Regions from separate parts of the Homo sapiens genome. Here regions 2, 3, 4, 5, 6 and 7 are each linked to region 1. The links are contacts of gene promoters, found by promoter capture Hi-C in blood cells and fetal thymus (Javierre and others, 2016). All regions are on one chromosome and are shown on one strand. The core of a region is centred on a gene start or on the middle of the fragment in contact, and the rest is flanking DNA. Distances in the headings are between cores, read along the strand shown. Region 1 holds the start of NDUFB6 (NADH:ubiquinone oxidoreductase subunit B6). Region 2 overlaps SMU1 (SMU1 DNA replication regulator and spliceosomal factor). Region 3 overlaps DNAJA1 (DnaJ heat shock protein family (Hsp40) member A1). Region 4 has its middle 3.4 kb from the start of APTX. Region 5 overlaps APTX (aprataxin). Region 6 has its middle 58 kb from the start of APTX. Region 7 has its middle 77 kb from the start of APTX.

Region 1 (4,172 bases), core at 1,062-3,561:
TTTTTTTGTTTGTTTTTGCGGGTTGTCTCTCAGTGGATTTACAATAATTCAATGGTTTAAAGTTATAGTTGATCCTTGAAAAAAACAGGTTGAACTTCGAGGGTCCATCATACGTGGATTTTCTTCTGCCTCTGGCACCCCAAGACAGCAAGACCAACCCCTCTCTTTGCCTCCTTATGATTTTCTTAATAACAGTTTATTTTCTCTGGCTTACTTTATTGTAATAATATAGCATATAATACATATACAAAATGTGTGTTAATTGACTGTATGTTATCAGTAAAACTTCTGGTCAAGAGTAGGCTATTAAGTTTTTGGAGAGTCCAAAGTTATATGTGGATGTTTGATTGTGCCAAGTGGAGGGGATTGGCACTACTAACCCTAGCGTTGTTACAAGGGCTATTGTATTTAGAATGATGTGTACCTTTGAGATTATGCCACCAAGTGGACCAATTAAGAGCTACTGGTTTTTACTTGATTTTTATGGACTGCTTTTTGTAAATTTAATTTTGTTTTGTAATGATATTGTTAAAATTAAAACTTTAGAAAAATTAAATTTAGCAGAAATTAATTGAGCAATGACCAATTTGAGAATCAGGCAGCCCTCAGAACCAGAGGAGGTTCAGAAAGTATCGTTCCACAAAGAGGCCAGGCAGCACGCATAGAAAAAAAACAGAAATGAGATACAGAAACAGCTTGATTGGCTACAGGTTGGCCTTTGCCTTATTTGAACATGGGCTGATCAGTTGACCACCTGTGATGATTGGCTGAGACTCAGTTATTTGTTACAGAAGTATATTCCTAAGTTAGGCTGTGAGTTAAATTGCATACTAAGTTGGGTTGCAGTTCATTATATAAGGACTCAAAATACGGAGACATCTTTAAGCTAAATTTAATTTCACAATATGAAATATTTACTTGGTTCTAAAGTCAAATTTATGAAGTAAGATGTTTCCAGAGATGTCTAGATTCTATCCCTGTCTCCTCTATCCTATTTATTTCCTCCACCATAGGTAGCATCTTTAAAAACCTCAATTGTTTTCATTCCCATTATTTTGAAAATTTAAGAAAATATGTATATATATTGAAATTACCACCATCTTTCTCTTTTTGGGTAAAAGCATACTGTACAAATTCCTATCCATTTTTTTTCCACTTTGTAATGTATTCTGGAGATCACACCACAGATGTATATAGAGTTCTTCCTTATTACTTTTGACGATTGTATTAGCATTTCATTGCTTTGTTGTGTGAAAGTTTTTGGGAAGCCACTGTTTTGGACTAGCTTCACGCACTAGGCCCCAGCAGACCAGACCAAACCAGAATGGAGTCGTTTGTGCTAAGTACCACACAATCAAACTGAACTTTGAAATGGGCCAGTTTCCCAAAAAATAGGAAATTCCCTTAAGTCTGAGTCAGTGAAACAAGGAAGTTTCTTCTGCTTTAACCCTAAAAGTAACTTTGAAACGATGAGTCCACTTTTTGTTCGGTTTCTGCTTTCTTCAGCCCCTATTTGCCAATAAAACCAACCGCCTCTGCTCAGCTGATCAGAACACTCATTCTACTTTATAGAATGAGGTGTTTTTTGATTCTAGAATCACGAATAAGAGTCAATTAAGATTTTTAAACTAATTCGTTGTAATGCTGTCTTTTGACTGTTGTACTACAATTTATTCAAGCAGTCCTTTATTTAGGAATTTGGGGGTAATTTCCAATATTTTGGTATTATGAATCGTGCTGAATAGTCGTGCATGCTCTTTCATATTTTCACCACACGTATTTTTGGGTGAAAGCATGAATTCATCTATGCAATTTTGCTAGATATTAAGCTACTCTTTTCACTATTCCTGTACAGATGGAGGGACAGATGAGACAGCTGCCCAGGGCACTTCAGCAGTTACTGGCATAGCTGGGATTTGAACTGGGATGTAACTATTTTCATACACTCTCTAGGTCATTCCAAGGTGGGAGAGGCAAGCAAATAATTTTGAATCTGGCCAGCATATTCACTGAAACATTTATGCTTATCCTTCCTCCTCCCAGCATACAAGTTCTTCCTTAGCAAAACCTCCAGTCCTCTAATTTAGCATACTTTCGTCTAATCTGTCACTTTCCTCAGGCCCCACAACTACGAGTACTCCTTGTCCCCACCCGGTCCTAATTTGGTCGGGTATAGCGGAGGTGGGCGTAGAGAGAACTGGAGGTGGAGACCTTTGTGCATGCCCACACACTGCTTTCCTCGCGAGGAATCTGGGGCCCTTGCAGAGGCGGAACCAGGATGTGACGTAATAACCGCGCGCGGCGCTCGGCGTTCCCGCAAGGTCGCTTTGCAGAGCGGGAGCGCGCTTAAGTAACTAGTCCGTAGTTCGAGGGTGCGCCGTGTCCTTTTGCGTTGGTACCAGCGGCGACATGACGGGGTACACTCCGGATGAGAAACTGCGGCTGCAGCAGCTGCGAGAGCTGAGAAGGCGATGGCTGAAGGACCAGGAGCTGAGCCCTCGGGAGCCGGTGCTGCCCCCACAGAAGATGGGGCCTATGGAGAAATTCTGGAATAAATTTTTGGAGAATAAATCCCCTTGGAGGAAAATGGTGAGTGACAGACCTCTCCGGTCCCCCCCAACACATCCCACTGCTGCCGGCAGCCTGAACACTGAACGTCCGCTCCCTGCAGCCACACCAAGGACTGATAACGCTCAGTGCTCTGGGACACTGGCCAGTCCCGAGAGTCCTCCTGGAGTCTCGGGAGGCAGGAGTCCAGGAATATGTATGGCTTTGAGAGAATCATGCCTTTTACTGTCAAGTACAGTGGACGGGGGCGAATTTTAATACTTAGGTTTTCCAGGACGCTGCACGTTTGGTTCTCTTTTGACTGTAGAAATCTTCCCTCAGAATAATAACCAAGGACTCGCTAGAATTAAAATTCTGTGATTTAAGTATTTGAGGACACTTGTCTGACTTTTAAGTGTGAGGTTCTAGAGACCAAGTAACACAGTATCCAACCACCAGAGGGCACAGCCAGCCCCTAGCTGATAGTACAGCCCCATGTGATCCCCGTAAAAGACAGGGTCCTGTTGGTATGCCTTGTGAGTCACATTCAAGAGCTACCTTTCTAAACTACCGTTCTGTACTTTTAACACAGTGTTTCATTAAAAAAATCGCATTTTGGGCTTTGAAGAAAATCACTCATTCAAGAACTTTATTTTCAAGGCCTCTGGGTATTTTCTTGAGGACTGTTATGGATGATAAACATCTCAGAATTGCTTTCAGTTACCTGCAACACTTACTGATGACAGGATAATAGTAGTAACAATACTACGTAACACACGGGTGCTTGCTGTGTGCTTGGCACTCTACTGGGGGTTTTACATGTGTTACTTCATTTCTTTATTCCTGTAAGGTAGATATTCCTAATCCTCATTTTAAATGTGAAGAAACTGAGGCCTACAAAGCTTCAGTGATTTGCTGGTGGTCAGGGAGCTAGGAATTGAATATGAGTTCATATTGTAATCAACATGTATCTGATTCTTACTGTGCTACAAAGTCTAGTGCAATAGAATTGTTGAAAATTTTTCTGAGAAAGTGATATTGGATACTTATTTATGGTGGTAAAATTCAACTCTTCTCCCACCCTTTGTATCCCTGACATTATCGGAATATTGGCAGTCACTGATTTAAAGTTGACATCCCATCCATCAGCAAGTGATATAAGGAAGTAAATAAATAATAATGTGTCGAAGTTCACCTTACCTTACTTTAATTTATTCTTTTATAATCATATCTGTTATAATTCTTAGATTCTGGATTGTCCCTTCCTTGAATGGATAGGTGTTTTTTAATCAAGTTGGAAGACATGGGAAAGTTCCATTTTTAGTTCTTTTTTAAAATAGTGTTGCAGAGGGCATTTTGGAGTGAGTTTGGGACACCCCATCTTAGTATGTAAAACGTCCTTTTTCCAGCATTGGCGTTGTCAAGGTTGTCTGCCTTATACCTAAAATGATGTGAGTGTCATTGATCAATAAATAAGGGAGATGACTATACCTGAAAAATTCTGTAGGTTTGATTACTCTGGTTAAATACATTAAAATTATTCTTTCATTATTTTGCTATATTTTATCTTTAACAAACTTATAATAAGGATATTTTTGGAAGTCTTTAAAAAATCTATAAATGCC
Region 2 (4,172 bases), core at 368-2,867, 480 kb before region 1:
ATCTACCAAAGGACATCTTGGTTGCTTCCAAGTTTTGGCAATTATGAGTAAAGCTGCTATAAACATCCATGTGCAGATTTTTGTGTGAATATGTTTTCTATTTCTTTGGGTAAATGCTAAGTAGTGTGATTACTGGATTGTATGGTAAAGTATGTTTAGTTGTAAGAAACTATCAAACTGTTCCAAAATGGATGTATCCTTTTGTATTCTCACCCTTGGTGAATGAGAGTTCCTGTTACTCCACATCCTCACCAGCATTGAGTGTGGTCAGTGTTCTGGATGTTGGCCATTCAAATAATAGGTGTGTAGTGGTATCTCATTTTAATTTGCATTTCCACATGTAGAAATCTTTTCATATGCTCATTTGTCATCTCTATACTTCTGGTGAGGTTTCTGTTTCAGGTATTTGACTCATTTTTCAATGGGGTTGTTGTCTTACTGTTGAGTTTTAAGAGTTTTTTGTATATTTTGGATAATAGTTCTTTATCAAATCTGGTTTTTACAGATATTTTCTCCCAGTCCATGGCTTGTCTTTTCATTTTCTTCCTTTTTTGTTTTTGAGGCAGGGTCTTGCTCCATTGCCCAGGCTGGAGTGCAGTGGCATGATCATAGCTCACTGCATCCTTGAGCTCCTGGGCTCAAGAAATCTTCCAGCCTCAGTCTTCTAAGTGGCTGGGACTACAGGCACGTGCCACCATGCCCGACTTTTGTGTGTGTGTGTGTGTGTGTGTGGAAATGGGGTCATGCCATGTTGCTGAGGCTGGTCTCAAACTCCTGGCCTCAAGTGATCCTCCCACCTTAGCCTCCCAGAGTGCTGGGATTACAGGCATGAGCCACTGCATCTGGCCTCATTTTCTTGACAGTGGCTTTTACAGAGTAGAAAATTTTAATTTTAATGAAGTCTAGCTTATCAGTTATTTCATGGATCATGTCTTAGGAGTTGTATCTAAAAAGTCATCAAACTCAAGATCATCTAGATTTTCTTTTTTGTTATCCTCTAAGAGTTTTAAATACAGTTTTGAGTTTTACATTTAGGTCTGTGATCCATTTTGAGTTAATTTTTGTGAAGACTGTAAGGTCTTTATTTTATTGTGTCTAGATACATTTTCTTGCATGTAAGTGTCGAATTATGGCATCTCTTGTTGAAAACACTATCTTTTCTCTATTATATTGCTTTTGCTACTTTGTCAAAAATCAGTTGAGTGTATTTCTGGGCTTTGTATCCTGTTCCATTGATCCAATACCACACTGTCTTCATTACTGTAGATTAGTAGTAAATCTTGAAGTTGGGTATTGTGAGCCCTCCAACTTTGTCCTTCTCTTTCAACATTGAGTTCGCTATTCTGGGTCTTTTGCCTCTTTGCGTAAGCTTTAGAATTGGGTTGTCAATATCCACAAAATAATTTGCTGGGATTTTGATTGGGATTGTATGAAATCTGTAGATTAAGTTGGGAAGAACTGACATCTTTACCATATTGAGTCTTCCTGTTCATGAACATAGAATATCTCTGTGTAGTTCTTTGATATCCTTCATCAGAATTTTGTAATTTTCCTCATTTAAATATTGTATGTATTTTGTTAGATTTATACCTAAGTATTTTCACTTTGGGGCTGCTAATGTAAATGGTATCATGTTTTAAATTTCAGGTTAATCCCAAGCCCTAACCCTTGGCAACCACTGATCTGTTTTCCATTATTATAATTTTGTCATTTTGAAAATGGTATAGAAATGGAAGCATATAGTATGTAAACTGTTCGCCTTTTCAGATTGGTTTCTCTCAGCTTGGTTTATGATGATTTTAATGTATCAATAGAGCAAGCAAAGTCTTAGAGACTGAGTGTCATCCTGTATGGGGAAAGCTTCTCATTCTGTTAGAGGAAACTGGAGAGCAGACATCCAGAAAGCTTTGAGAAATACTGGTATATTGATTTAGAAAATTGTTTTTTGTATGGCAATGAAATTTGCTTAAGGGTAATATGTCTCTTTAGGGCATGATTGGTGACGTGGGATGTATGAATTCTAAATTTTTGTCTGCCACTTAGTTTAGATTACTTATCTATTGAATATTTCCCAGGCAAGGGGAGTTAGCACATGATGAACAGGACTGGAGATCTAATTACAAATGATAGTAAACCAAAGTGCAAAATAACAACGTAAAAATGTCAGTTTAAAATGCTGCACATGGTTGAGCTGCTACTAATCCTGATGTTTTTTTCTTGGGGTGTGGTGTGATCTAGATTGTCAGAAGCTTCAGTTCTGGTAAAAGAGAAGGTGGGGACTTTGTTTGCTGTGCCCTCTCTCCCCGTGGTGAATGGATCTACTGTGTAGGGGAGGACTTTGTGCTCTACTGTTTCAGTACAGTCACTGGCAAACTGGAGAGAACTTTGACAGTGAGTATTACTTACTAAGTTCATCTAAAGAAATATGGTAGGACTTGTGTCTTTCTGAACTCTGAAGTATGTGCCTTTTCCAGAGCTATCGATGTGACCCTCAGTATAAAATATGTTGTTTTAAAACATTTAGCTCCATGTCAAATTCAAGAAGTAAAATTAATGTCAGCTGCTATGATGATCCCCAAATCTCGGTGGCTTAACACTATATAAGTTTGTTTATTTTTATTTTATTTTATTTTATTTTGAGAGGGAGTCTCACTCTGTCACCCAGGCTGGAGTGCAGTGGTGTGATCTCGGCTCACTACAACCTCTGCCTCCTGGTTTCAAGTGATTCTCCTGCCTCAGCCTCCCAAGTAACTGGGACTACAGGCACATGCCACCACTCCTGGCTAATTTTTTGTATCTTTAGTGGAGACGGGGTTTCACCCTGTTGGCCAGGCTGGTCTTGAACTCCTGACCTCAAGTGATCCACCCGCCTCTGCCTCCCAAAGTACTGGGATTGCAGACATGAGCCACTGCGCCCAGCCTAAAGTTTATTATTATGTCACAATGTGATGTGAGTTGGAAAACCCTCCTCCATCTTTCTCCTATGCCATTTGGAATATGTGGCCTCCCAAGATCTCTTTTTCCCTTCCACCCACCTCTGGAAGCCTCATCAGAGTGATTTATTGCAGATCTGTACATCCTAACCCTGTGCTTTACATGTTCCAGGTGCACGAGAAGGATGTGATTGGTATTGCACATCACCCTCATCAGAACCTGATTGCTACCTACAGTGAAGATGGACTCCTAAAGCTCTGGAAACCATAATTCAACTTTTCTTTTTAAATCAGCTCGAAAGCATGTACTTAAATGAAGCATATTCATGTAATGTGCTTTTTTTTTTTTTTGCCAGCTTTTCTAAGCAAATAGATTGTCTGAATTAGTCACAGAATAATTTTGTGAAAATTCATGTTTAAGTAGCAACTACCCTTTCTTTTTTTATATATTTTTAAGGTATTAGTTTATCTTCTTCTAACTGGTGCAGTCACTTAATGTTTTCATTAATCTTCGACCTGGAGAGTGAAATACTGATATTTCTAGAAAAAAATTCTACTCCTCTGATTATTTGAAATGCTGAGGAAAATGTCCCTCCCATAGTAAAACTTGTAAATAAGGAACTATATCATATTCAGTAGCTGTGTTCTGTTCCATCTTTTTTTTTTTTTTTGAGATGGAGTTTTGCTTGTTGCCCAGGCTGGAGTGCAGCGGCACGATCTTGGTTCACTGCAACCTCCGCCTCCCAGGTTCAAGCGATTCTCTTGCCTCAGCCTCCCGAGTAGCTGGGGACTACAGGTGTGCGACACCATGCCTGGCTAATTTTTTTGTATTTTTAGTAGAGATGGGGTTTCACCATGTTGGCCAGGCTGGTCTCAAACTCCTGACCTCAAAGGATCCACCCGCCTTGGCCTCCCAAAGTGCTGGGATCACAGGCGTGAGCCACCATGCCCGGCCCATCTTTTTTTTTTTTTTTTTTTTTAAAGATGTTAATAAACTTTATACCTTTCTGGAGACTTTGTTCTAAAATGTACATAAATGCTCATCTAGTTAACATATTTACTTAGAATGTGGGAGGAGGAGTCACATTATTATCCCTGAATCTCAAGTACAGCAGAAGTGAATTCCTGGGATAGTAGGATAGACTAACATGTAAAAAGGCCAGGTGATGCATAGGTTCTCATTTCACTGCCCTCAGCCTTCCTCTCCTTCTGAGCTGTGCCTTCTCACATGTTCAGTCA
Region 3 (4,172 bases), core at 899-3,398, 460 kb before region 1:
CTACTAAAAATACAAAACATTAGCCGGGCATGGTGCTGGGTGCCTGTAATCCCAGGTACTTGGGAGGCTGAGGCAGAAGAACTGCTTGAACCCGGGAGGCAGAGGTTGCAATGAGCTGAGATCGTGCCATTGCACACTCCAGCCTGGGAAACAAGAGCGAAACTCCGTCTCCAAAAAAACCATGAATTTTTATGAGACCCAATTCTTCACCTAACTCCCCTTTCAAATCCTTAAAAGTATGCCTATCCCTTGATCTAGTAACTCCTAATTAAGAATGTGTACAATTCTAATGTTTTAAAAGATGGAAGAACTATGGTTTAACAGGAGAGAATTAAGTTTGGAACACTATTCAATCATTTACAGGACCACAGATTTCAAAAGATGATCCTGTTATATTAAATGAGGAGATTCCTAATATATTCTGTATTAGTAATATACCAATGTGCAAAATTATGTCTGGATAAAAGAACATTATTTACTAAGCTGCTAAGAGTTATTTCTGATTGATAGGATCATATATAACCTAATTAAGAATGATTTTTAAACAATTATAAAATGTTAATAATAAATCTGCCACAGCATTCAAGACTTCAGAATAAGTAACTCAGAACTCACCTTTGTCAATATGAACTTCTAAAATTTTCTTCTCTCGAACTATCTTCCTTCCGTTGCAGCTTTTACATCTATCTTTAGGACTGATCCGCTCCCCATGGCCCTGGCACTCCATGCACACAGACTGAATTTGCTGAACCATTCCAGGTCCTATCTGATGAATTCTTATTTGCATTCCAGTACCTCGGCAATTGGGACAGCACTCTACTGCTCCTTTCTTACCTCCTCTACCTAAATTTAAAAAGAAAATTAAATAATGTATGAATTAGTAGTGTATACAGTAGTAAATGTTTTAAGAAGACAATTCCTAAATGCTATACTTTTAATATTTTCGAAGCCTGATGGAATGCTACCCTCTGAATGTACAACTGATGAGATCATTCCAATGAGTTTCATTCTTATTAGAACACACTTTCCAATAAATTTTACTTATTACAAAAAAGATACCAAACTAGCTTGATCCCAACTGTATTTAAAATATACACAGAAAAAAGTGCTGATATTTCTTTAGGTGGGAGGTTTTCAGTTGGTTTTCTTCATATCTGCCCTCTCCTCCCCCAAAATCTAGGTAGTGTACATGAATCAATTTTACATATCTATCTAGAAGTCTTAGCTCCATTTTCAGGTGTCATATTAAAGGTGCTTAAAAACAAAACAAAACAAAACAAAAAAACACCGTACCTTCACATTTGTCACAAATCACATTCTTTTGCAGAGCCAGTTTTCTTGTTGCACCATTATATAAGTCTTCTAGGGTTACTGAGAGCTGATGTACAACATTTTTACCTAAAACAAAATATTTCTCATTGCAAATCTGTTTAAGATGCTGGATCTTATTTGTGCTAAAGGCACTATAAAGAATGTGGCAAAGAATAATAAAAGATGAGCCTCACAGGGTACATCTGTTGACTACCTACTATATACACAGAATGTTCACGTTATCACAGATGATCCTCAAACTGTGATGTAATCACAGATGAGGGAAAATCAGGTCAGAGATTAAATATTTGCTTAAGGGCACAGACGTGGCCATCTTGGAAATATGGTAAGCAAAAGCATTACCTTCAAAGTCACTTGAGAAAAACCAATGTTATTTAAAAGGGCACATTTCACAATAATCCAAACATTCATTTCTGTCACAATATATTTTTTGAAGCTTTCACTTCGTACCGTATTGAGCAACATGGCCAATTACTTCATCCAAAAATTCTGTAGCACAGTAAATTCTCATTAATCAAGATTGGCCAGGGAAGCTGATGTATTTATTGAGTCACCACAGAAGAGTATCAATTTCTACTTCTTCCTGATTTAGTAGAAAACAGCCCATTTACTGCTGGGCCAGCACTGGTTGTTTTGAAGGCCAAATTTCTCATACCTTTTATAATAGCATTGCCCAACAGAACTTTCTGCAGTGATAAATGTTTTATATCTGTTCTGTCCAACGTAGCAGCCACCAATCACATGTGCTTATTGAGCATGTAAATGTGGCCATTTAGACTAAGAAACCGTATTTTTGTTTTTGTCTTAAATTAATGGAGCCACACATGGCCAGTGGCTACTAAGGAGTGCCTTACTTCACTTAAATCAGAATAGGAAATGGAAGGTCAAGATCTCATAAGGACACTGAGGTTAGAAGTATGAAGTCACCTGCTAGTAAGTTAGTAAGTTCCTAACTAGTGGTCCTTCCACAAGGACTTATTCACAACAATATTATTGCCTTTCCACCAACTGAAAAAAGTTCTCAAACTCGTTTCTGTACAATATGCCTAATGAACATTTTAACTTTCTAATCAAGCATGAAATACCATTAATTATGTCCTTCTGCTTATAGTTCCACCTTTAGTTTTGGCACGCTAAAATCTAGCTGCCCTTATTTTGAACAGTGTTGAGTATAAGGAAGGAAAAATAAAGCTTCTAGAGCTTGATGAAGCGCATTTCCCCAGAAATAACCTCTCAATATGATCATAAGCCACATAAAAGAGCTTGCCAATGTTAACCTGCAGGTTCTTTGTAAGGTAAGTGAAAAACCACCACTACTTTTTTGTGGACAAATTCTAACAATTTACTAAGCAAGTCATTTGGATTGTGGACTTTCTTTTTAAGGAGTTTAAGTATCTTAATAAAAACATAATCCTTTCCTTGAAGATCTTTAAAGAAAAACTGAATAAACAATTTCCCAAATCTTTCTGAACCTTAAGAAGCTCAAAGTGAAATTTAATGGCTTGGCCATTCATTCTAAAACTGGTTCTGCTCATCAGCCCTTATTTGTATACACTATACTGGAAATAAAGTGAGACTGATTTCTCTTGAACATTTTACTCCTATAAGCAGTATTTCTAGAGCCCATAGGCCACTTTCCTGATAAACATATTAAATACATAATTTTGACACAATAAAGCTGAAACAAGAATAGATAGATGGCAGGCAACGAACCAGTTTTCAGCCCTGGCTCTGTTGGCTTGCTATATGAGCTTGAAGAAGTTTTAGGTTTCTGAACTTTAACTTACTCCCATTTGAAAAAGGCCACTGTACCTACCATCAAATTCCTTTGGGGAGTGAGGGAACACCAAATAAGATCTGTAAAAAGGGCTTGGAAAATTATATTGCTATATACTTTGTCTTTTTTTTTTTTTTTTTTTTTTTTTGAGACAAGAGTCTCGCTGTGTTGCTCAGGCTGGAGTGTAATTGGGCGATCTCAGCTCACTGCAACCTCCACCTCCCGGGTTCAAGCGACTCTCCTGCTTCAGCCCTCCTGAGTAACTGGGATTACAGGCACGCACCACCATGCCTGGCTAATTTTTGGATTTTTTTGGGTTTTTTGTGACAGAGATTCACTCTTGTTGCCCAGGCTGGAGTGCAGTGGCGTGACCTCCGTTCGCTGCAACCTCTGCCTCCAGGGTTCAAGCGATTCTCCTGCCTCAGCCTCCAGAGGAGCTGGGATTGCAGATGCCCACCACCACGCCCAGCTAATTCTGTAGTTTTGTAGAGATGGGGTTTCACCATCTTGGCCAGGCTGGTCTCGAACCCTGACCTCAGTGATCCACCCACCTCGGCCTCCCAAAGTGCTGGGATTACAGAATGAGCCACAGCACGCGGCCTGTTCTCATAATTTGTTTGATAATATCTAAGATTTTTGGAAGCAGTCATTTGCTACCACTCTGTTGGCTATTTTTTAGGCCCCTTAAATCTCATTTTAAAAAAAGCGACACCACTGGCTGGGCATGGTGGCTCACACCTGTAATCCCAGCACTCTGGGAGGCCAAGGCAGGTGGATCACCACCTGAGGTTTGCAGTTCAAGACCAGCGTGACCAACATGGTGAAACCCCATCTCTACTAAAAATACAAAATTAGCCGGGTTTGGTGGCACATGCCTGTAATCCCAGCTACTTGGGAGGCTGAGGCAGGAGAATCGCTTGAACCCGGGAGGTGGAGGTTGCTGTGAGCTGAGACCACGCCATGGCTCTCCAGCCTGGGCAATAAGAGGGAAACTCCGTCTCAAGAAAAAAAAAAAAAAAACCACAACAAAAAAACACGACACCATAAATCAGAGGCAATTTGT
Region 4 (4,172 bases), core at 1,204-3,703, 430 kb before region 1:
TTTCTGGACTCAGTCTAATTGTCCTTTCCTCAGATAGGCCTTTCTTTCTTTCTTTCTTTCTTTTTTTTTTTTTTTTTTTTTTTTGAGACAGAGTCTTGCTCTGTCGCCCAGGCTAGAGTGTAGTGGCGCAATCTAGGCTTACTGCAAGCTCCGCCTCCTGGGTTCACACCTTTCTCCTGCCTCAGCCTCCCAAGTAGCTGGGACTACAGGCACCCGCCACCTTGCCCGGCTAATTTTTTGTATTTTTAGTAGAGACGGGGTTTCACCATGTTAGCCAGGATGGTCTCGATCTCCTGACCTCGTGATTCGCCTGCCTCGGCCTCCCAAAGTGTTGGGATTACAGGTGTGAGCCACCGCACCCGGCCAGATAGGTCTTTCTTGACGCCCTCACAACCCTCTCCCTCTCTACTGTTTCTCTGGAGAACTCTGACTAATACAGCTTTCCCCAAATGCCAAAACAAAATGAGGTGTCCCAGCTATACTCTCTCTCAGAATTTCATATTTTTCCTTCTGAGCAAGTCTCTGGACCAGGCAACCACAGCCTCTGGCTTCACCTGCTTTTCCCTTAGATCAGGTAGGTACTCTGCCTCCAACTGCTTTTCCCTTAGAGCAGGAGTCTCAAAATCTTAAAGAAAGAAGGGCTTTCAGGGGGCCAGACAGGTTATATAAGTGAGTGGGTGGAAACAGTGGCAAACTGGAGAGCACATGGCAGCTATTCACAATTCTAGCTATTTGTTGTTAGACTTGGCTAGATTTATTGATTTTTCCCCCAAGAGATCAGGAATCCTGATTTTTAAAAAAAATTCTTTTTATTAAAATTTTTTTTATAGAGAGAGGGTCTTGCTATGTTGGCTGGGCTGATCTTGAACTCCTGGCCTCAAGCAATCCTCCTGACTCATCTTCCCAAATGCTGGGATTACACACATGAGCCACTGAGCCCAGCCAGAATCCAGGTTTTCATGTGAGATCTCATTTCTAACTGTTGGAATTAAAACAAACAAACAAACAAACAAACAACAAAACCCTGAGCAGAGTAGCCAAAAACAATCTTGAAAAAAAAAAGAATAAAGTTCTTATACTTCCTGATTTCAAAAAGTATTACAAAGCTATAGTAATCAAAACAGTGCAGTACTAGTGTAAAGACAGACATACAGACTGATGGAATACAATAGAAATCCCAGAAGTAAATCCTTGCATAAATGATTAAATGATATTCAGTAAGTATGTCAATACCATTCAGTGAGGAAAGGGCAGTCTTTTCAACAAATGATATTGTTAAAATCTGGGTATCCACATGCAAAAAATTGAAGTTGGAGCCTTACCTTACATAGTACAGAAAATGAACTCAAGGCCAGGCACAGTGTCTCACACCTGTAATGTCAGCACTTTGGGAGGCTGAGGCAGGAGGATTGCTTGAGCCCAGGAGTTCAAGATCAGCCTGGGCAACATAGCAAGACCTCTGTCTCTATTAAAAAAAAAATTAGCCAGGCTTGGTGGGACATGCTTGTAGTCCCAGCTACTTGGGAGGCTGAGGTGGGAGGATTGTTTGAGTCTGGGTGGTCAAGGCTGCAGTAAGCTGTGATTGCATCACTGCACTCCAGCCTGGGCAACAGAGCAAGACTCTGTCTCACAAAAACAAAAACAAAAACAAAAAACAAAAAAATAAAACCACACCTCAAAAATGGATCAAAGACCTAAACATAAGACCTAAAACTATAAAACTCTTAGAAAACATAAGGGAAAAGTTTCATGACAGATTTGGCAATGTTTTCTTGGATATAACACCAAAAGACAGGCAGCAAAAGTAAAAATAGGTAAATTAAAGTACTTCACAATTAAGTTTTGTGCATCCAGGGATACAGCCAGCAAGCAGAGTGAAAAGCACCCTATGAAATGGGAATCTTATATTTGATCAGAGGTCAATATCCAGAATATATAAAGAACTCCTACAACAAAACAAAACAAAAATAACCCCATTAAAAAATGAAGTACTTGAATAGACATTTCTCCAAATACATACAAATAGACAGGAAGCTTATGAAAAGATCAACATCACTAATCATTAGGGAAATACAAAGCAAAACCACAATGAGATACCATTTCACACCCATTAGGATGGCTGCTATCAAAAAAAAGTAACAAGCGGCCGGGCGCAGTGGCTCACACCTGTAATCCCAGCACTTTGGGAGGCCGAGGTGGGTGGATCACAAGGTCAGGAGTTTGAGATCAGCCTGGCCAATATGGTGAAACCCCATCTCTTCTAAAAAAAAAAAAAATACAAAAATTACCCGGGTGTGGTGGCAGGCACCTGTAGTCCCAGCTACTCAGGAGGCTGAGGCAGGAGAATCGCCTTAAGCCGCGAGGTGGAGGTTGCAGGGAGCCGAGATTGCACCACTGCACTCCAGCCTGGGTGACAGAGCGAGACTCCATCTCAAAAAAAAAAAAAAAAAAAAGGGTTGGCAAGAATGTGGAGAAATTGGAACTCTTGTACACTATTGGTAGAAATGTAAAATCATCCAGCTGCTATGGAAAACAGTGTGACAGTTCCTCAAAATATTAAAAATGGAATTACCATATAATCCAGCAGTTTCACTTCTGTGTATATATTCAAAATAATTGAAAGAAGAATTTTTAAAAATTGTTTCACATTAAAAACAAATTTCAGTGGCTTTAGGGGTACAAATGGTTTTTGGTTTCATGGATGAAGTGTATAATGGTGAAGTCTGAAATTTTAGTGTACCTATCACCCGAGTAATAGTTACACCCAATATGTAGTTTTTTAAAATCTCTCATCTTCCTCCCACTCTCTCCACTTCTGAATCTCCAATGAACATTATACCACTCTGTATGCCTTTACATACCCAAAGCTTAGCTGCCAATTATAAGTGAGAACATGTGGTATTTGGTTTTCCATTCCTGAGTTACTTCACTTAGAAAAATGGCCTCCAGTTCCATTCAAGTTGCTTCAAAAGACATTATTTCATTCTTCTTTATGGCTGAGTAGTATTCTGTGGTGTATATGTACGACATTTTCTTTATGCATTCATCAGTTCATGGGCATTTAGGTTGGTTCCATGTTCTTGCAATTGCAAATTGTGAAAACAGGATCTCAAAGAGATATTTATACACTCATGTTCATAGCAGCATTATTCACAATAGCCAAATGGTGGAATATCCACGGGTGGATGAATGGATAAAGTATGGTGTGTACATGCAATGGAGTGTTATTCAGCTTTAAAAAGGAACTTTTTACACATGATACAATGTGGATGAAACTTGAGGACATTATATTAAGTGAAATAAGCCAGTCGCAAATGGGCAAATACTGTCTGATTTTACTTACATGAGGTACCTAGAGTGGTCAGACTCATGAAAACTGTAAGTAGAATGGTGGTTGCCAGGTGGGGGAGGGAAAATAGGGAGCTATTTAATCGATACGGAGTTTTTTTTTTGAGGCAGAGTCTTGCTCTATCGCCCAGGCTGGAGTGCAGTGGAGTGATCTTGGCTCACTGCAACCTCTACCTCCCGGGTTCAAGCAATTCTTCTGCTTCAGCCTCCCAAGTAGCTGGGACTACAGGCGAGTTCCGCCACGCCAGGCTGGTCTTGAACTCCTGACCTCAGGTAATCCACCTGCGTTGGCCTCCCAAAGTGCTGGGATTACAGGTGTGAGCCACCGTGCCTGGCCGAGTTTCAGTTTTTCAAGATGAAAAAGTTCTGGTGATTAGCATGGCAATATGAAGTGCCTGAAAGTCTTCACTGCCTGCCATACCTTTAGCTATACATTGTGCCATGTGATCTTGCTTTTCTGGCCACTAATACACTATAGACAATGGACTAGGCCTAACAAGCAGGACGTGGAAACTCTGCCCAATTTTGCACATTATATAGTGAATGATGTAATTAGAATGATCCAATCCAACTTTTGGATGCAAGACACACAAAGGCAGGTCAAAGAAGCACCCTTAACCGAGAGGGATGCTTAATTGAGGGAACAACAAAACTGGTCAGGTCACCAGAGTTGCCTCTTTTTATCTTGGGCAGTTGTGAACAACATTCCTCAGCTGTAAGGCCTGTGTGGCTGCTGAGATGCTGCTTGTGTTTTCCCACTTCCTTATATGACCCTAATATAAACCTGCATCTTCTCTGCTAACAAAAGCAAGCCTGTCCTCTGT
Region 5 (4,172 bases), core at 881-3,380, 410 kb before region 1:
CCCTCAGAAAAAAATCCTTACCATGTACCTTGTTTTTTCCTGTAAACATGCACACTGCTGGCTGGAGTGTGACCCCCCCACAGCAAGGTTTCCCAAGGGTTCTGAACTTAGAGAGTTGGCATCTGCAGCACTGATTATGATCTTTCCTATATGAGTTAATCTAAGTGGAGGGATACAAAGCCATGCTTGAGCTGAGTAGGCCCAAGATGCAGAAGCAGTGGCTGCTTCTCTCTCTGTTCCCTTCCTCACAACAGCAACTGAAGGGGCATGTATGTGGCACCCTGTCCTCTCTGGGGAGCAGCTATGGTGGTTCTTCTTTCCTCCCTGTCTCAACTCCAGATACCTTGTTCATTTATCAGAACAGGAATGCTTAATGTTACCACTTCTCACACATGCTCAGATTGTTCTGTCTCTGCAATCATCTTTCTAGAACATTCTTTCCACTCCTTCTACCCAAAGCCACCTGAGTTTCTGTTTTCCAGGAATGTGTCTTTTACTGTTTTATCTTTTAAAGCATCTAATAGTTGTTGTTTTTCCAAAATAATAGTGGAAGCCTGATTTAATCCTTGGTCAAGAGTTCGTGTGAGAAATGGATCTTTTTTTTTTTTTTTTTTTTTTTTTTTCCTCCTGAGATAGGGTCTCACTCTGTTGCCCAGGCTGGAGTGTAGTGGTGCGATCTTGACTCACTGCAACCTCCACCTCCTGGGGCTCAAGTGATTCTCCCACCTCAGTCTCCCAAGTAGCTGGGACTACAGGCATGTGCCACCACACCTGGCTAATTTTTGTATTTTTTTGTAGAGACGGGGTATTGCCATGCTGCCCAGGCTGGGAGAAACAGGTCTTCTTTTCTGGCGGCAGAGTCTGTGATCATGAGCAGGCCAGGGGTTCTGGAATAGGGAAACTTGTGGGGATTAATTGAAGCTGCCTCATAGGGATCTTGGCAATAGCTAAGGGAGTATGTACGCTGTTGGACATTTTATGGAAGGATTTAAACCTTTAGAAATTGGTAGGATTTGGAGCTCCAGCCACCTGCAATAACAGGTGATTGCTAATAGGCCTTTAAGGAAACACCACCTGTTCAGCTGCCGCCTGTAGTGAAGCTTGTTTTCTTTAGGGAAGATAGGAGCAAGTGCCTGGTTCTTTGTTGCATTTGTGTTTAACTTTTTCCAATCTCTTTCAGTACAGTTGAAAGCAGAGTGTAACAAGGGATATGTCAAGGTAAAGCAGGTAGGTGTATTTATAACTTGGAATTTTATACTCGATGATTTTCTTATGCTGTTGACTTTAGAGTGTCTGTGCCAGCCAGTGAAGGCTTCTCTGTCATGTATGGAAGTGATGGAGTAATATAGGTGAACATAAGGCAAGGTGCTTGGCATATAGTAAGTGGTTAACATAGCAGTGGCTATCTTACTGTAGGTGCTGTTGCTATTATTATAATTATTTTCTGATTGTTTATTCCATAGGTAGGAGTCAATCCCACCAGCATTGACTCAGTCGTAATTGGGAAGGACCAAGAGGTGAAGCTGCAGCCTGGCCAGGTTCTCCACATGGTGAATGAACTTTATCCATATATTGTAGAGTTTGAGGAAGAGGCAAAGAACCCTGGCCTGGAAACACACAGGAAGAGAAAGAGATCAGGCAACAGTGATTCTATAGAAAGGGATGCTGCTCAGGAAGCTGAGGCTGGGACAGGGCTGGAACCTGGGAGCAACTCTGGCCAATGCTCTGTGCCCCTAAAGAAGGGAAAAGATGCACCTATCAAAAAGGTGAGGGTAGTGTGATTGGTAGATGATGTGGAGAAGAAATGAAATATAATGACTGCTTAATTGTTTTGTACACTTTAAAGTTCAGAAATGCGTGAGGGGTTATTAACCATGATGAAAGAGTCACTTGTTTGTGGCGTGAAAATCATTTGGATGAATGTTCCTTTATGTGCTTTTTTCTTAAATTCCTGAGGTAAGCCACCTGAAGGTACAACAATAATGGCAGTGTGTACTTAACATTGAACAACTAAAGTGGATCAGTTGTTTATGCATCTATAGAAGGTTTTCATAGATCATGTAATTCATATGCTGATGTCAAAGTGGAGAATTGGTCAGGCTGTAGCTGCAGTGAGAGAGGGCAAAGAAGGTATGACTCATACTCTGGCATTTCTCGCCTTCATTTAGAACAGCCAGCTGTGAATATAGGAAGGCTGGCTGGGTGCAGTGGTTCACGCCTGTAATCTCAGCGCTTTGGGAGGCCGAGGTGGGCAGATCACTTGAGGGTCAGGAGTTTGAGACCTGCCTGGCAAACATTGTGAAACTCCATGTCTACTAAAAATACAAAAATTAGCTGGGCCTGGTGGTACACACATGCTTGTAATCCCAGCTACTCGGGAGGCTGAGGCGGGAGGATTGCTTGAACCTGGAAGGCGGAGGTTGCAGTGAGCTGAGATTGCACCACTGCACTCCAGCCTGGGCGACAGAGCGAGACTCCATCTCAAAAAACAACAACAATAATAAAAAACAGCTGGGTGTGCTGGCTCACGCCTGTAATCCCAGCACTTTGGGAGGCCGAGATGGGCAGATCACCTGAGGTCAGGAGTTCGAGACCAGCCTGACCAACATGGCAAAACCTAATCTCTACTAAAAATACAAAATTAGCTGGGCGTGGTGGTGCATGCCTATAATCCCAGCAACTCCAGAGGCTGGGCAGGAGCATCGCTTGAACCCGGGAGGCAGAGGTTGCAGTGAGCCGAGATCACGCCATTGTACTCCAGCCTGGGCAACAAGAGCGAAACCCCATCTCAAAAAAAAAAAGAAAGAATATAGGGTCGGGTGTGGTGGCTCACGCCTGTAATCCCAGCACTTGGGGAGGTGGAGGCCAGTGGATCACCTGAGGTGAGGAGTTCAAGACCAGCATGGCCAACCTGGTGAAACTCCGTCTCTACTAAAAAATACAAAAGTTAGCTGGGCGTGGTGGTGGGCACCTGTAATCCCAGCTACTTGGGAGGCTGAGGCAGGAGAATCACTTCGGAGGTTGCAGTGATCACGCCGCTGCACTCCAGCTTGGGTGAGACAGAGTGAGACTTTGTCTCAAAAAAAAAGAGAATATAGGAAGGCAATGGAGTGAAGCAGAGTCAAGTGAATCTTGTTTAATTCTCAAAAACTAAGCTTATTTCCAAGTTTAGTTGTGCTATCACACAGTATTAACTGTTGCCAAATTTAATTATTGGCATTTGTAATTTACATTGCTTGTTTTTTTTTTTTTTTGTTTTTTTTTTTGTTTTTTTTTTAGGAATCCCTGGGCCACTGGAGTCAAGGCTTGAAGATTTCTATGCAGGACCCCAAAATGCAGGTCAGAATACAATTTTGGAATTTCAGTACATTTCATGTTGTAAATGACCACTCCACAGAGGTCTTAATTACAAATGAAATCAAAGGATATCAGTCTTTCTGAATGAGATTCATTTTATTGGGCTGTTCTGTGAGAACAAGAGGCTTTTCACATTGGCAATAAAGTAGCAGCTGTCATTGTTTGGAGAGAAAGCTGAGTTCTTCAAATGAATATCCCCTCTGCCTTGTGCCTTTTAAACTTCTGGGTACTTTAAGGGAAGTTGCATTAACCTTAGTATGGTTCCTTTCAGGGGAGCATCAGAGATAATACACTGTGACAGTAGTACTGTGCTGCCCTGGCATTAACAGTCAGACATCCCTGTAATCCCAGCACTTTGGGAGGCCGAGACGGGAGGATCACCTGAGGTCAGGAGTTCGAGATCAGCCTGACCAACATGGAGAAACCCTGTCTCTACTAAAAATACAAAAAATTAGCTGGGCATGGTGGTGCATGCCTGTAATCTCAGCTACTCGAGAGGCTGAGGCAGGAGAATCACTTGAATCCGGGAGGTGGAGGTTGCGGTGAGCTGAGATTGCACCATTGTACTCCAGCCTGGGCAACAAGAGCGAAACTCCATCTCAAAAAAAAAAAAAAAAAAAAAAAAACAGGCATCATCCTTGAGGAGCCTTTGAGTCCCACTTCAATTATATTCCTTGTTGACAAGGGGCAGGTCTAATAGGGCTCACTGGAACCCACGTGTACGTGTCACACAGTCTGCCATGTTGGAGTGGAGAAGGATGCTTTTGAATTTATGTCTACAGAGATTTTACATCACATTCTTGGGAACTATTTTG
Region 6 (4,172 bases), core at 1,047-3,546, 370 kb before region 1:
CTCCACCTTACCTACTGTAGTACTACTTTAAAGCAAATTTCAGAAATCAAAATAGTTTCACCTTGACAGTAAAATTAATAAGATATAAGACCTATTTAAAGTTATAAAAGCTCAATTAAAATTATAAATGTTATCTGAACAAATGGAAAGACATCTCATGTTCTTTAATGACTTGGAAACATAAAATCTATTTAAAGATTTTTAAAAATTTATTTATTTATTTATTTTCAGAGACAGGGTCTTGCTCTGTTGCCCAGGCTGGAGTGCAGTGGCAGGAGCATAGCTGTACTGCAGCCTCATACTCCTGGGCTCAAGGGATCCTCCTGCCTTAGTTTCCCAAGTAATAAGGAATACAGGCACGCACCACTATACCCAGCTAATTTTTTTTAAAGACGAGGCCTTGCTATGTTGCCCAGGATGGTCTCAAACTCCTGGCCTCAAGAGATCCTCCTGCCTTGGCCTCCTGAAGTGTTAGGATTAGAGGCATGAGCCACGGTACCCAGGCCTGAATTTTTAAATATAAACCCAAAAGCACAGGCAACAAAAGTAATAATAGACAAATGGGATTGTATCAAACTAAAAAGCTTCTGCACAGCCAAGGAAATAATCTACACAGTTAAGAGACAACCTACAGAATGGGAGAAAATATTTGCAAACCATACATCTGATAAGGGATTAATATCTAAAATAATAAGGAACTGAAACAACTCAATTGTAAGAAAACAAATAATGCAATTAAAAAATGGTCAAAGGATTTGAATAGACATTTGTCAAAAAAAGACAAACAAGTGACCAAGCACAGTTATCTTTTGGGATCTGTAGGGGATTAATTCCAGAACACCCTGCGGATACCCAAATCTGCTGATGCTCAAGTCCCTGATATAAAATGATAACAGTATTTGCATATAACCTACACACATCCTCCCATATACTTTTATTTTTTTATATAAAGACGGGGCTTCACCATGTTGGCCAGGCTGGTCTTGAACTCCTAGTCCCAAGTGATCCTCCCGTCTCGGCCTCCCAAAATGCAGTGATTACAGGTGTGAGACATCATGCCCAGCCCCCTCCCATATACTTTAAATCATCTCTGGATTACTTATAATACCTAATAAAATGTAAATGCTATATATGAATACTATCCAGCTTCAAGAAGGAAGGAAATCCTGCCATTTGTGACACCCTGGATGAATCCAGAGGACATTATATTAAGTGAAATAAGTCAGATACAGAGAGACAAATACTGCATAATCTCGTTTGTACGTGAATTCTAAAGAAGTTGAACTCATAGAAGCAGAGAGTGGAATAGTGGTTATCAGGCTGAGAATTGGGCGTTGGGGAGATGTTGGTCAAAGGATACAAAATTTCAGTTAGGAGGAATAAATTCAGGAGATCTATTGTACGGTATGGTGAATACAGTTAATATCAATGCATTGTGTTCTTGAAAATTGCTAAAAGATTAGATTTTAAGTGTTCTTACCTCAAAAAAAATAGGTATGTGAAGTAATACGTTAATAAGCTCAATTTAGCTACCCCACAGTGTATACATATTTCAAAACAATATATTGTACACAATAAATTATATAATTTTTGTCAATTAAAAATATTAGAAAAAAATACATTGGGCCAGGCATGATGGTTTATGCTTGTAATCCCAGCACTTTGAGAGGCGGAGGCAAGAGGAACTCTTGAGGCCAGGAGTTCAAGTCCAGCCTGGGCAACATAGACCCAGTCTCTACAAAAATTAAAAAACTAGGTGAGTGTGATGGCATGTGCCTATAGCCCCAGCTTACTCAGGAGGTTGAAGTGGGAGGATCACTTGAACCCAGGCGATCAAGGCTGCAGTGAGCCATGTTCATGCCACTCCACTTTAGCCTGGGCAGTACAGCCAGAGCCTGTCTCAAAAAACAAAAACAAAAGTAATTGGTTACCTCAGAGGGGTAGGTTTGGAAGATGTGGGGTATGGACGGGGCTGATTAAGTTTTTTTTTTTTTTAATATATCCCTGTATTGCTTCATTTTGTGCACAATCTTTAATACTTTTATAATACAAAAAAGAGAAATTTTAAAAATGTGTTTGCTCTATCTCCAATGTCTAGAACAGTGTTTGGCACATATTTGGCATTCAATAAATGTTGGTTGCATAAATAAACAAATGGATTTTGTTAACATTTGTTGAGTACCTGCAGCGTGGTAGGCATTGGACAGCAGGTACTGCCTCGTATTTGTGTGGTCTATAAACCATTTGAGTTAATTGGATTCTGGTATATCAGAGAGCAAACTACATGCCTTCAAACATAACAAACGGAGACAAAGTTACAGCTACTCCTCTAGCTAAAGACACTACCCCTGCTCTCTGAGTGCATCATAAGGATCCTACTGATGTTTATTTCATATCTTTGATATACAGGCACACACCGTCCACACTTCAGGCAATCATTTACACACTGAGTGGGAGTGTGATAAGGGCATGTGGAGTAGGAGAAGTTTTCTGATCCGAACTTTACTGACTGCGCTAGAAAACCCTGATGATATCCTTTCCAGTGTTTCTAAGAACAATTCTTCCATTTCTAAGCATGATTCTTCCATTTCTAAGCAGCATGTTGTCTGTTTACTTATGATTATTTTTTACTTGTTATCTGTAAATGTTGGGGTGATCAGACCCAACACCAGGTCGTGGGGGCAACGAAGTCCTGCTGAGTCAAAGGAATGAGAAAAAGACAGTTTGAGAGAGAAAGTCGGACCAGGGGGCCATCCTGAGTGTGGAGCCTGTGAAGGCCCAGAGCTTTGGGAGCCCACACTATTTAGTGGTGCTCAAACAAAGAAACAGGTGGTGAGGATGTGGGGGTTGAAAGGAAACAGTGTATCAAGTGAATGAAAAACATATGGCGGCTTGAGATAATGGGAGTGCTAGAAGCAAGGAGCCAAGCAAGTCTAGCAGACATGCAAGCCCTGCCTCAGCTTCTCTCCGGACACTCAGCTTTTTCTCCCAACAGTAAATAAGGTTCTTTTTTATTTAAAAATAAGTAACAATTTATTTTCTTTTCAGAAATTTGGCTCAGTTGACAGGGTTGAGTTTCTGCAGTGATTGCTGAATTATTAATTAATTAATATTATTATTTGAGACAGAGTCACTCTGTCACCTAGGCTGGAGTGCAGTGGTGTGATCTCAGCTCACTGCAACATCTGCCTCCCCAGTTCAAGTGATTCTCCTGCCTCAGCCTCCCAAGTAGCTGGGATTACAGATGTGTGTCACCATGCCCAGCTAATTTTTGTATTTTTAGTAGAGACAGGGGTTTCACCATGTTGGCCAGGCTGGTCTCGAACTTCTGACCTCAGGTGATCCACCCACTGTGGCCTCCCAAAGTGCTGGGATTACCCACATGAGCCACCATGCCTGGCCCAGCTTCTTATCTGGTCTTTTTGTCTCCCTGCTGTTGCCACCTTCTACCCCCTTCAAATCCACACTCTACAGCTTCTAGGGATTATTTTTTTGAAAACGCAAATCTAACCATGTATATCAGACACATCTTCCCTACCTCTGTAGATTCTCTCAGCTTGATCAATTTCACAGACCCTTGGATTATTGTTCTATGCAAGCCCCTGCAATTCCACTTGAGGCCGACCAACCATACTCTTGGCTTCTCCCCTACTTCTGGGTAAAGAAGTCAGGGTTAAATCCTCTGGGGCAACTTTGACGAGCAGGAGAAAGGAGTCCCTTCCATGGACTTGTCCGGGGCACGGTTTTCCCACATACCCTGTCCAGGGACATCTTGTGTGGCCAAGCAGTGTACTTTTTAGCTTTTGAGTAAAGCTAAAATGGGCTTTGCCTCTTTATGGCTTGTCATAAAGCAGTAAGCAGTTGCATTTGTTTTCAATTCTTCCTTCACTTCACTGCTCTGAGGCTTTACTTCCCAATAAAATTTTAGCACCTTAATCCTACCCTTAAGCTCTGTTTTCTAGGGAACTTGGGCTAAGATATGAAGTTATTTTCTGCTTGAAAAGCTTTCCTTGGCTCTTTATTGCTTCCAGAAGTGTTTATGGGGATGGGGACAGCCGTTTGGAGATTAGTAGGATTTCTTTTCTAGTAGGTATGGGTGTGTCTGAGCATAGTATTTTATTTAATTACTTTGCTTTTTTTCCTTTATATTAAAGATATTGTATTATTAAAAA
Region 7 (4,172 bases), core at 585-3,084, 350 kb before region 1:
TGTAGGCTGTTAAGCCTTGGTCAGGCCTGGTGGGACATATGGCACAACCGTCTTCGTTTGAGGAAATGACTGTGCTGGGAGTCAGACTTGCTGCCGCCGGGCTTTTTCCTCACGCTCCTGCCAGCTTTTTCAGGGAAGGAAATGCCCTGTGTCCTGCCCAGCCTCTTCTGGACATTGCTGTTGCTGTCTCGGGGCTGAGCCTTGCTGCACTGGGAAGATGTGCCTCCTGCTTCCACTGCTGCTGCTCTGGTTTGAAGCTTATGCCCTGGGCCCCCAGCCCTCCTACCTTCTTAGGCCCTTAGATCCACTGCTCTAAAGTTCCTCCGAGAGAGTGGATGTTGAGGGGATTCAGGTTCTCCTCTAAGTCCTTCCCACCAGACACACTAATTTTCTATGAGACGTCAGTTGGACATTGGCTTTTGTCCCCTTTCTTCATTTTGGCTACCAATATCATTATCTCTAGAATAATTTTTTGGCTCATGGATGGTACCTTTCCTTAATTTCTAGCACCAATGAGATTTGTCCCAGTTTTACATTTCCTTAGTCATTTCAGACACCTATGCTCAGATCTCCATCTGTTTTTTGAGTTGAACATCTTTTCCCACCTCTCTCCTCCACCAGTTGTCTGTTGCCTTTAATTAACCTCTAAATAGATAACACATTCTTCTTTAATTGTAGTATGGAAATGTCTACGAACAAAACAGATACTTTTTTTTTTTTTTTTTTTTTGCAAATGCGTAGGAAAGAGTGGTTCCAGTCAAGTTCATCCGAAGTTTTAGGCAGCTGCATCTACACAGCCCCGGGGGCATGGAGGTCAGTGTCTGGGGACAGAGGTAAATACCCACCATCTGTGCATCCCTTTGATTTTCCTTTTTTAGTGCCTGATTAATCATCTGGTGCTGAGGGACAGTTCTTGTTTCTTTAAATTCTTCTGGTTTGATTTGGATTTTATACATCACCTACAGCCTCCTGAAATGTCAGTGACTTGGATAGCTGTAGCTCCAGAAAACTTCTCTTTGAGAATTTGGGTCCCTTTGAGCTCCCCGTCAGTCTGGGAGGCAAACATTCAATGAACACAGTGCAGAAGAGGAAGCCTGCAGATCCTGCGTGGAGAGGAGCTACAAGGGCAGGGTTCCACATCTCTGTGTCTGACTGATGTAGCCCGCCGCCCTAGGCCACTGGGCCACCTGAAAGCTGAGCATCCTTTTTAAAAGAATTTTTGGACCTTTTATTTTGAAATAATTTTAGACTTAAAGAAAAGTTGCAAAAATTAAATGGAGTTCCTTTATACCCTTCACCCTGCTACCCCTGTTAACATCTTACATAATCAGGAAATTAACATTGACAGGAAATTAACCAGGACATGAAACCAGGAAATTAACATTCGTACAATGCTTGTAACTAAATTGCAGACCTTATTCAAATTTCCCCAGCTTTCCCCTAATGTTGTATTATTGAGCATCTTTAAAAAATGATTTTTAATGCATCAGAAATACTCACAAATGATTTGCATCGGATCTGTAGTCATACCTGGAGGCCCAAAGAGTGGGTTATATTAATTTTGAGTTATATGTTTGGTCATTTGTGTGTTAATTTTGAAATCACAGACTAGCTCAGTGCCAAGCATGTAGTCTTGGCCGAATGAACATTGACTGTGGCCCTATGCTTCACACTGTGATTTCAAAGATGAGCTAGATGGAGTCTCTGGAGTCAGCATTAAAATCTCTAGGGAAAATCATGTTCTTATGTTGGTAATTCCAAAGATAAGCTGTAAGGAGCACAGTTGGAGCATTTGCTCTCTAGAGATCACATGTTGTAAGGAAATTTTGCTTTTCTGAAAATTAGAAATTAGAAAAATCCTGTCAGCCAGTAAACTTTTAACAAATGGTGGAAACTAGAGCGAGACTGGGAGGAGAGGTATCAGGAATTAGGAAATGTAGCCTTGGCTGGCCTCCTCACCACACCTGGAAATATATCCCTTTGAGAGTAAATTAATGGGACCCCTACATTTACGGAATGAGGATAGTACTGATATTTGGATAACACTCTATAACCAGTGGTTTTCCATACAGCATGCCATTAAAAATCCTCCTCTCAAAACCTGATCATGGTGGTCTGGTGTGCAGAGTGAAATAAAGCATCTTCACCGGCTCTGTTTCTTTCCAGGCTTAGAGATGGCCTGGATCCAGAGGCCCCCTGTGAGTGCAGTCAGTGCGAGCCCTTCAACATGCCCTATATGGTGTCTGCTTCAGACAACTCTCATGCCTATGCTGTCAGGACCGGAATCCTCCCCACCAGGTATGGCCTTGCCTAGGGATTCTAAGTCTTATGTTTACCTGTGCTGTGCAGGTCAAATGTTCTAGTAGTGAAGGAATGACCCACTGATAGAAATGAAGTAGAGAAAGGCGACAATTTAGGAATTTCACCACTAGGCTAAACTACTTCCAAACATTCAGAGAACCTTGGATGAGCAGTTCAAAGTCCAGGGCAAGCACAGAAAATGTTGTGAACAGGTTTCACTCTTTATTCTCCTTTGTTATGAAGATGATGTATTAGTAACAGTGCTACAGGTAGTTAGGCATGAGTGGGGCAGGAGAGGGCTCTCCCTCCACCCACTAGAAATGTCGGGTGATGGTTTGGCAATTATTGCATCGCTTCTCTAAAACTTATAATTTGGCAGCGCCAGGGAGAGGCCATTTCCTGATGGTTCACACCTGTTAACATCAAAATGCTAATTGAATGCAGGCCCCAGGGAGAAGCAACTTCCTGGGCATGCGTGTTAAGAGACAAAAATGGTGAAATATGATCTTCTGGGGGCACCCTCCACTGGAAAAGGAAGAAAGCCTCAGATGGGCATGTGTACAACTCCCTAAACTCACTGTGTGTGCTCAATTCCAAAGAGTAAGGAAAGCATGGGCATGCGGAAAGCCCACCCTAAGGGAAGAATCCTGGGAGAGAGGCGAGCCTATATAGTCCCCTATAAAGGCGAACCTATAAAGATCAAGGTCAAAGGCCCCTTTTGCTGTCTTCTTTTGCTCTCATTTCTCTCTTGGACCTTCAGTGCCTGCTTGGGTCTCTTTCAAGCTAATTTTCCTTTCTTTCCTGTTCTAAAGGCTTTTAAATAAACTTCCACTCCTTCTCTGAAACTTGGCTTGGTCTCTTTTCTGCTTTATGCCCCTCGGTTGAATTTTGGACCCATACAGATATGCTGCCAGTAACTCGGGGAAACTTGGATCTCTTTCACTGTAACGGTGGTAATTGTAATCAACGATAAGTGCTTCTTCTGTGGTTTACTTGAATTATTTCCTTTAATTCTGACTGATTTAATTTTAATTCTGATTTAATCTATAAATCTGTAAATTTTAATCCTGGTTTAATCTATAAATAGGCAATAATACAGATGAAGCTTAAAAAGTTGGGTAACTAGATTGAGGTCAAGTAGCCAATAAGTGCACAGCAGAGCCTTGATTCACACCCAGGCATCCTGGCTAAGAGCCTGCCCTCTTAACCATAGACCATACTGGGACACAAGTGATCCCAACATCATTCTGTTTGATTTGACCTTCAGCATTCTCTCTTCTGATTTGTTTGATGCTCAAGGCCTGGTTTTCTTATTACCTAAAACATACGCTCTTTTAGCTTTTGTTTCCTATTTCTTTGTAAAATGAGGTAACTCTGTTGGTCAGTCTCTAAGCTCCTTTCTAGGGCTAAAATTCTACAGTCCTGCAATTCTTTTTTTTTTTTTGGTTGTTGTTCTTGTTGTTGTTGTTGAGACAGAATCTCGCTTTGTTGCCCAGGCTGGAGTGCAGTGGTGCCATCTCAGCTCACTGCAACCTCTGCCTCCTGGGTTCAAGTGATTCTCCCACCTCAGCCTCCCGAGTAGCTGGGATTACAGGTGCCCACCACAATGCCCAGCTAATTTTGTACTTTTAGTAGAGATAGGGTTTCACCATGTTGGCCAGGCTGTTCTCAAACTCCTGAGCTCAAGTGATCTGCCTGCCTTGGCCTCCCAAAGTGCTGGCATTACAGGCATGAGCCACTGTACCTGGCCAGTCCTGCAGTTCTTGATATCACTCTTTAAGTGTTGGATATCTTTAACATTGCTGCTGAAAATATGCAACAAACAAATTTTATGCTTGCAAAAATAAAGAAATCTGGATGGACCCACCAGA

Evidence for each region. The method cuts DNA at HindIII sites, captures the fragments that hold promoters and counts their contacts. A CHiCAGO score of 5 or more calls a contact.
Region 2: a contact is called between a fragment that was not itself captured here and the fragment with the promoter of NDUFB6 in region 1, in 1 of 17 cell types (M1 macrophages). The highest score is 5.0, in M1 macrophages.
Region 3: a contact is called between a fragment that was not itself captured here and the fragment with the promoter of NDUFB6 in region 1, in 15 of 17 cell types (M2 macrophages, M0 macrophages, M1 macrophages and 12 more). The highest score is 14.2, in M2 macrophages.
Region 4: a fragment that was not itself captured here is called in contact with the fragment with the promoter of NDUFB6 in region 1 in 12 of 17 cell types (naive B cells, monocytes, fetal thymus and 9 more); the score reaches 9.9 in naive B cells.
Region 5: a fragment that was not itself captured here is called in contact with the fragment with the promoter of NDUFB6 in region 1 in 14 of 17 cell types (M1 macrophages, M0 macrophages, M2 macrophages and 11 more); the score reaches 18.1 in M1 macrophages.
Region 6: a fragment that was not itself captured here is called in contact with the fragment with the promoter of NDUFB6 in region 1 in 1 of 17 cell types (M0 macrophages); the score reaches 5.5 in M0 macrophages.
Region 7: a fragment that was not itself captured here is called in contact with the fragment with the promoter of NDUFB6 in region 1 in 1 of 17 cell types (M2 macrophages); the score reaches 7.4 in M2 macrophages.

The regions. Positions count from the first base shown.
Region 1 is chr9:32,571,298-32,575,469 of GRCh38, reverse strand. NDUFB6 (NADH:ubiquinone oxidoreductase subunit B6) reads left to right here and starts at 2,311. Exons shown (of 4, transcript NM_002493.5): 1 at 2,311-2,589. The coding sequence starts at 2,410. RefSeq lists enhancers at 1,904-1,953, 2,224-2,763. The HindIII fragment of the contact is 6,496 bases long and covers 1-3,451 here.
Region 2 is chr9:33,046,325-33,050,496 of GRCh38, reverse strand. It overlaps SMU1 (SMU1 DNA replication regulator and spliceosomal factor), which reads left to right. Exons shown (of 12, transcript NM_018225.3): 11 at 2,239-2,391; 12 at 3,106-4,172. The coding sequence ends at 3,204. Among named protein-coding and RNA genes, the nearest start is that of DNAJA1, 23 kb to the right of the region's middle. The HindIII fragment of the contact is 491 bases long and covers 1,372-1,862 here.
Region 3 is chr9:33,027,111-33,031,282 of GRCh38, reverse strand. DNAJA1 (DnaJ heat shock protein family (Hsp40) member A1) reads right to left here. Exons shown (of 9, transcript NM_001539.4): 4 at 1,294-1,398; 5 at 616-843. Among named protein-coding and RNA genes, the nearest start is that of DNAJA1, 3.9 kb to the right of the region's middle. The HindIII fragment of the contact is 755 bases long and covers 1,771-2,525 here.
Region 4 is chr9:33,002,912-33,007,083 of GRCh38, reverse strand. It overlaps a transcript of APTX not described here. Among named protein-coding and RNA genes, the nearest start is that of APTX, 3.4 kb to the right of the region's middle. The HindIII fragment of the contact is 833 bases long and covers 2,037-2,869 here.
Region 5 is chr9:32,985,138-32,989,309 of GRCh38, reverse strand. It overlaps APTX (aprataxin), which reads left to right. Exons shown (of 8, transcript NM_001195248.2): 3 at 1,181-1,227; 4 at 1,464-1,766; 5 at 3,280-3,339. Among named protein-coding and RNA genes, the nearest start is that of APTX, 14 kb to the left of the region's middle. The HindIII fragment of the contact is 2,055 bases long and covers 1,103-3,157 here.
Region 6 is chr9:32,941,616-32,945,787 of GRCh38, reverse strand. No RefSeq gene overlaps it. Among named protein-coding and RNA genes, the nearest start is that of APTX, 58 kb to the left of the region's middle. The HindIII fragment of the contact is 3,420 bases long and covers 587-4,006 here.
Region 7 is chr9:32,923,023-32,927,194 of GRCh38, reverse strand. It overlaps the pseudogene BOLA3P4. Among named protein-coding and RNA genes, the nearest start is that of APTX, 77 kb to the left of the region's middle. The HindIII fragment of the contact is 3,149 bases long and covers 260-3,408 here.